Linked DNA regions of Homo sapiens: region 1 is linked to region 2. The links are contacts of gene promoters, found by promoter capture Hi-C in blood cells and fetal thymus (Javierre and others, 2016). All regions are on one chromosome and are shown on one strand. Each heading gives the region's core, a stretch centred on a gene start or on the middle of the fragment in contact. The rest is flanking DNA. Distances are from core to core; before and after follow the strand shown. Region 1 overlaps COLEC12 (collectin subfamily member 12). Region 2 holds the start of YES1 (YES proto-oncogene 1, Src family tyrosine kinase).

The links. The method cuts DNA at HindIII sites, captures the fragments that hold promoters and counts their contacts. A CHiCAGO score of 5 or more calls a contact.
Region 1: a fragment that was not itself captured here is called in contact with the fragment with the promoter of YES1 in region 2 in 1 of 17 cell types (monocytes); the score reaches 7.3 in monocytes.

The regions. Positions count from the first base shown.
Region 1 is chr18:320,156-323,336 of GRCh38, reverse strand. COLEC12 (collectin subfamily member 12) reads left to right here. Exons shown (of 10, transcript NM_130386.3): 9 at 1,530-1,675. Among named protein-coding and RNA genes, the nearest start is that of THOC1, 54 kb to the right of the region's middle. The HindIII fragment of the contact is 1,804 bases long and covers 690-2,493 here.
Region 2 is chr18:810,763-813,807 of GRCh38, reverse strand. It overlaps YES1 (YES proto-oncogene 1, Src family tyrosine kinase), which reads left to right and starts at 1,566. Exons shown (of 12, transcript NM_005433.4): 1 at 1,566-1,694. RefSeq lists enhancers at 364-905, 906-1,448 and silencers at 1,180-1,689, 1,740-1,799, 1,870-1,959. The HindIII fragment of the contact is 10,737 bases long and covers 1-3,045 here.

The DNA of each region.
Region 1 (3,181 bases), core at 342-2,841, 490 kb after region 2:
AAGTAGCATCCCATTTTTACTCTCACCAATCGATGGTTTCCTCTGAATTCTCTTTCATCACTAGGTTTATTTAATTGAGGCCACTCAATGTATATATATATATGTATTTTTGAGATGGAGCCTCGCTCTGTCACCCAGGCTGGAGTGCAGTGGCATGATCTTGGCTCACTGCAAACCTCCACCTCCTGGATTCAAGCAATTCTCCTGCTTCAGCCTCCCAAGTAGCTGGGACTACAGGTGCCTGCCACCATGCCCAGCTAATTTTTGTATTTTTAGTAGAGACAGGGTTTCGCCATGTTGGCCAGGCTGGTCTCGAACTCCTGACCTCAGGTGATCCATCTGCCTCAGCCCCCCAAAACGCTGGGATTACAGGCATGAGCCACTACGCCCGGCCTTCATACTCATTTTTTTTAAATCCCAAAATACACATTTGGTGTGGGGGAGTCAGTTCTACCCTGTCCCCACCCTTTGACTAAACTTCAACTGTCCTTTCCCGCTGCCTCTGGTTTTGCGGGTGTTATTGTCCAAAGATACAGGGCCATACAGGCTGTCTCCTCGGGTGACCCGAGGACACCCTGTGGCCAGTGCGGTAATGAGTCATTGTTTATAGGAAGCACCCTCCGCTGCAGATGTTCTTCCAGACCCTCCACATGAGGCAGGCTTGTCCTCTCAGGCAGCAGCCACAAGCTTCTGTGCATGAATCTGCTTCTTAGACAAGATTGAACCTTCAAGGGGTGAGTCTGGAAGCACACCTGATTTATTCGTGGAAACGTAATCAAGAACTGTTATCCATGGCAAGGTGCTGTTCTGAGCAGCAGCATCCAAGTTAAGAAGCCCCATGTGAACTCATCCTAAAGAAAACTTGTTTTTAAGAATCTCTCTCCCAAAAAAGGGAGTGAAATGTAGGAGTCATTTTCAGTAAGATTAAGTTACTATTTCTTTCTAAAGCAATCAACCTTCTACAACTCACCCAGACAATCATAACCAGTTATTTGTAATTGTAGGTTCTTGTAAATGTATATCAAAAGTCTTTCACTTTCTCTTCCTGGCTCTTGGACTTGTTAGAGGCAAGATATTGAAATGTACAAGGTCCCTCTGGGTTCTCACAAGATCATGTGTGCGTGTGTGTGTGTGTGTGTGTGTATCATGTCCTCATAATGAATAGATATTCACACACATATATACACTCATGCCCAGAAGTCAGCATTCCAGTACACATTAGAAAGTTATTCATCTAACTGTCCCAAAGCAAGATTCGCTCCCTCTGCATTCTGATGAACCAGCCTAGTGAGTTTGGTTCATGGTAGCAAAGATCACAAGCGCGCAGGGAGATGCCGCATTATGCATTACTCTGCAAAACAGCTGCTCCTTTCTCTGAATAAGAGCATGTACTGATTTTTAAACTGCATTTTCATTCCAGGATAAATGACATGCTTCAATTTTGTTTTTTTATATTCTCTGCTGCTCTTGAGTAAAGAAAAGCTCTGCATTACTGTGCAAATAACATTCAATTTCTGTTTTGCTAAAAGAAATTGGAAAGCTGGACAGCCGGATAACTGGGGTCATGGCCATGGGCCAGGAGAAGACTGTGCTGGGTTGATTTATGCTGGGCAGTGGAACGATTTCCAATGTGAAGACGTCAATAACTTCATTTGCGAAAAAGACAGGGAGACAGGTGAGCAGTAGATGGGATTTAAGAGGGAGCTGCCAGCTTATGTCCTATGAAAGGGTGAGGGGTGGTGAGTACAAGGGCCCTGAATGCAGGCACTGCAATTAGGTTTCAGCCCTGGTTATGCCATTTATTAACTGGGCAGGTGATTAACCTCAGGGAAATAGTAATAGCATCTTCTTCACGAGGTTGTGAAGATTTAAATAAGTTAATAAATGTGCCTCACATGTAGGAAGTACTCAACGAATGCTAAACTAACTGACCCACATAAGTATCTTATATTGTGAGTTAATTGTTCTTTAAAATATAGCACCAGCCAGGCACGGTGGCTCACGCCTGTAATCCCAGCACTTTGGGAGGTGGAGGCGGGCAGATCACCTGATGTTGGGAGTTTGAGACCAGTCTGGCCAACACGGAGAAACCCCATCTCTACTAAAAATACAAAATTAGCCGGGCATGGTGGCGCATGCCTGTAATCCCAGCTACTCAGGAGGCTGAGGCAGGAGAATAGCTTGAACCCAGGAGGCAGAGGTTGTGGGGAGCCGAGATCGCACCATTGCACTCCAGCCTGGGAAACAACAGCGAAACTCCATCTCAAAAAAGAAAAGAGATATAGCACCAATGTTAGTTCTTTTCCGTAGACATCCATACACAGCTAATCCAGGTGGCCAAGCGTTCAATTCCACGTGTATCTATTGAGCATCTACTATAGGCCAGATCCTGTGATACATAATAGAGGGAGATGGTCTGTGCTGCTTATCAGCTCATAAGCCAAAGCAGCTTTTGGAGATTTTCTTGACTTCAAAGGCTATGTATCTAAAGCTTCATTTAACACACGACCCTCTTTGGAATGTGGCATCTTAGTTTTCTTCACCAGAATGAGATTAAAAGTTTGTGATAGGGGACAGAGGAAATGGGGAATGAATGCTAATGGGTATGGGGTTTCTTTTTGGGGTGATGGAAATGTTCTAAAATTAGATTAGATTGGTTCTAAATTGCATAACTTTGTGACTATACCAAAGACCACTGAATTATATGCTTTAAATGGGTGAATTATACAATTTGTCAATTATATTTCAATAAAGCTGTTCATATAAAAACAAAAACCTCAAATATATTTTGGTCAAACTATTTTTGGAAGTAACTGGGGCATAAATTATCCGTATTGCCATTCAACAGACAGTTACTGAGCACCTTTGATGTGTCAGGCATTGGTCCAAGTGCTAGGGACCTTAAGACACATAGGAACTCACAGCTGGGTCAGTTGAGGGGGAAAAACACAGATATCTAAACAAGGGATTATAATTGATGGTGACAAGTAACTCAGATTTGTCTTTTGTATGCTTTGTTTGGCCATTTGGGATTTGAGTAGGGACCAGGCTTTCCCAGAATAGGCTTTTCAAAATGAAACTTGGCTTTTCAAAATGAAACTTATCTTTTCATCCAAATAAGATCTTCTAGACATTTCTTTGAAAATATAAGCATTGTTGAATGATGTATTTTAGACACTGT
Region 2 (3,045 bases), core at 317-2,816:
GAGTGTTTAGGAAGACGAAATTATCTCTATTTAGTGAAGAAAGGCAACAGCTCAAGGAATTTTCTATTTTAATAAAAGCTGAATATAGACCTACATAAAATTTTAAAGCCCTGAGACAGTCAATGACAAATGAAGTTTTAGTAGCTAAGAAAATACAGCATCGTTCCACATTATGTGTCTCTTTAACGCCTACGCCTACCTTTCGTTCATTTAGTGAGCTGAAGAAAAAAATGTTCAAACCCTTATATGCATTTCCTTAAGTTCCTAGAATACCGGAATACTGACACATATGATTGCACTATTTCCTATCCGTCGAAGATGATTCTGAATTTCACTAAAAACCGCAAAGGAAACCAATAGTCACAAAATAATTCTGATAACCCCACCAAAGAGGAAATAAAGAGAGGAAGTTACTCTAAAAGTCTGATAGGGCAAAAGTGACTGCAGCAGAAGGGCCTCAAGGTTCAGTCCATGAGGACCTTGATTAACCTTCATCTTTACGCCCCCACCCCATCCTTCCGGGTCCTCCCCCTTCTTCAACGACTGGCTTTACAAGGCTCATAGGAAAGGTGCGTGTATTCAGACGGACACGATTCCAGCTGTGGCTCCTCCACTTTCAGGGTCGCTGTTTCCACAGTTGACAAGCAGGAGAACCATACTTGTTGCACTTCCCTCACTGGGCTGCCGCCAGCATCATATAGAAAAACGCTGTCCCAACATAAGCCAAAGCCACCATGACTGGGATAGTCGCCAAACAGAACTCAGCTTCGGTTCCCCTCCCGGCAAGGCTGGTTCGACCTACAGTCAACAGGAAGCTCCTGGGGGCAGGGACAGGATCCCTGCCTCGGAAGGAGGCAAGACGTGAACGTTTTTTGGACGGCGATCAGGATGGTGATGAGGGTGTGAGTAACGCCCCCGGCTCACGCGGTTGGGCTTGAGATTTTACTACCAACGACAAAGGGTGCGGAAGCGTAGCGCTGAGAAGCAAACAGCCAACCAAAAAAACTCAACCCCGTCCTCCCCCACAAAAGCAAGCCCCAAAGCCCTGGCCACTACTGAGAGCTGGGCCAAGGAACAGAGAAAGGCAGAGGGGCAGAATCGGAGCGCTCCATTCAATCTCCGCGGCAGCCGAGCGTCGGTGGGTTCGCGGGTGGGAAGGGACGCCGCGGGCCTGCTCTCCGGGCAGGGAAGCACCTCCTCCTCACGCCCCCTCGGCCTGCACCGCCCCCGGGAATCCGCCCCGGACCCCGCCGCCATGTTGGGTCGGGAGAAGTGACACGGACCGGTCGCCTATCCTGACCACAGCAAAGCGGCCCGGAGCCCGCGGAGGGGACCTGACGGGGGCGTAGGCGCCGGAAGGCTGGGGGCCCCGGAGCCGGGCCGGCGTGGCCCGAGTTCCGGTGAGCGGACGGCGGCGCGCGCAGGTACCCGCAGCCCCCGCCCCCGCTAGAAGTCAGGGGGCGGGGCCGGGGGGGGGGGGCGGAGGAGGTGGAGAGTGAGGCCGAGGCGTGGGGAGCCCGGGAACTCCCTCCTCCTGAAGTAACGCGTCCCGGGCCGGCTCTGCCGTCGTTGCTGCCGCCGGGCGCCCCGGGACGAGGAGGTGGAGGAGGGAGAGGGCCCGCGGGCCTCGCCTCCGCCCTCCGCCACCTCGAGCTGCGGTAGCAGCGACTCATGAGAGCGCGGCCGGAGGACAGGTAAGGACCCGGTGGGGCCCCGCGGGCGGAGGGTTCCACCTCTGCCCGGACAGGGCTAGGCCCCAGCGCCCGGAGCCGCCGCCGCCGCCGCCGCCGCGGTTCCCCGCCCCCGCGGGCCCGAGTCGGGAAGTTGGGAAGAAACTTCTCCCCTCCCCCGGATCGCCCGGCGGGCTTGTCTCGTTCCCCGCGCTACCTGCTCGCCCCTGACTCGGTCTCTGCCCTGTCCAGACCTGCCGGGTCCCGCCCAAGTCCGACCTGAGGTTCCAGGGGCGTGGGGACACTCCCCACCCCTTGTCTTTGGGGTCGTGTGGACCGCCCGGCGACGGGGAGGAGAGGTTTATTTTTGCCCCTACGGCCGAAGTAGGGGCGAGGGAAGCGGCCCCTTTGGGTCCTAAAGGCTGGGGGTCTGTGTATCGGCCGACGCCGGTAGCAGCTGTGCGGGGAGAGGAGCGGGTGTGTGGGGCGAGTGGATGAGCCTTTCTGGCTTTACTTGGTTTGATTGAAAACCGCAACATGTTTAAAGTTTTCCTTTGTTTTGGGTTGGGGGTTGGGAAATTTACCATTCAGCGTCCACTTTTACGGAATCATGCCACTCCGCCTCCCGTTGCGTTCGGTTCCCTGTCCACATGTGTTAAAGAAAATTGTCTTAAAGTGTGTTTTTCTTCTTGATAATTGCTTCCAGCTTTCACTTTATTGGGCATGGGGCAGAGCTGTTTTAAGAAGCTCTTTGAAAATCAAGTCTGGTGTAGGGACTTTAGTTTTTGTTTTGTAATGAGTAGGACTTAACAGTTCGGATTTGGTTGAATCATTTTCTGCATAATTAATTGATACAGGCGTGGAATAACATACTGTATAATTATAAATTACTAAAGGAAATAATGAAAGTCTTTGGTGGAAGCACAATTTTATGTCCATTTATTATGTATATACGTTCCACGGGTGTGTGTTTTCACAGTCGATTTCACATGATATGATTATAGTATCTTCATGTATTATAACTGTAAGATTACAGTGCCAAAGATACCTTGATAATTTTAAATATTTAAACCATCCTGTTACACTTCTAAAGTTAAATTACGCACTAAGGAAAGTATTACTAAATGTATACACGTGACTGTGCATTTAAGGAAAAGTGCATGGTAAATCTAATATCTTAACTATCACAGTGCTTGGCACACGGTGGACAGGAAGCATTTTGAATGGTCAGGTAATAAAGGAGTATCTTGTATTAGCCAAGGATCTTGTATGCATCACTTACGATGTTCATATATTGTACAGTAAGAAAGTTTTACTTTAGCAAATAATATATATGGTTTTTTGGTTTTTGTTTGTTTGCTTATAAGTGTGAGAC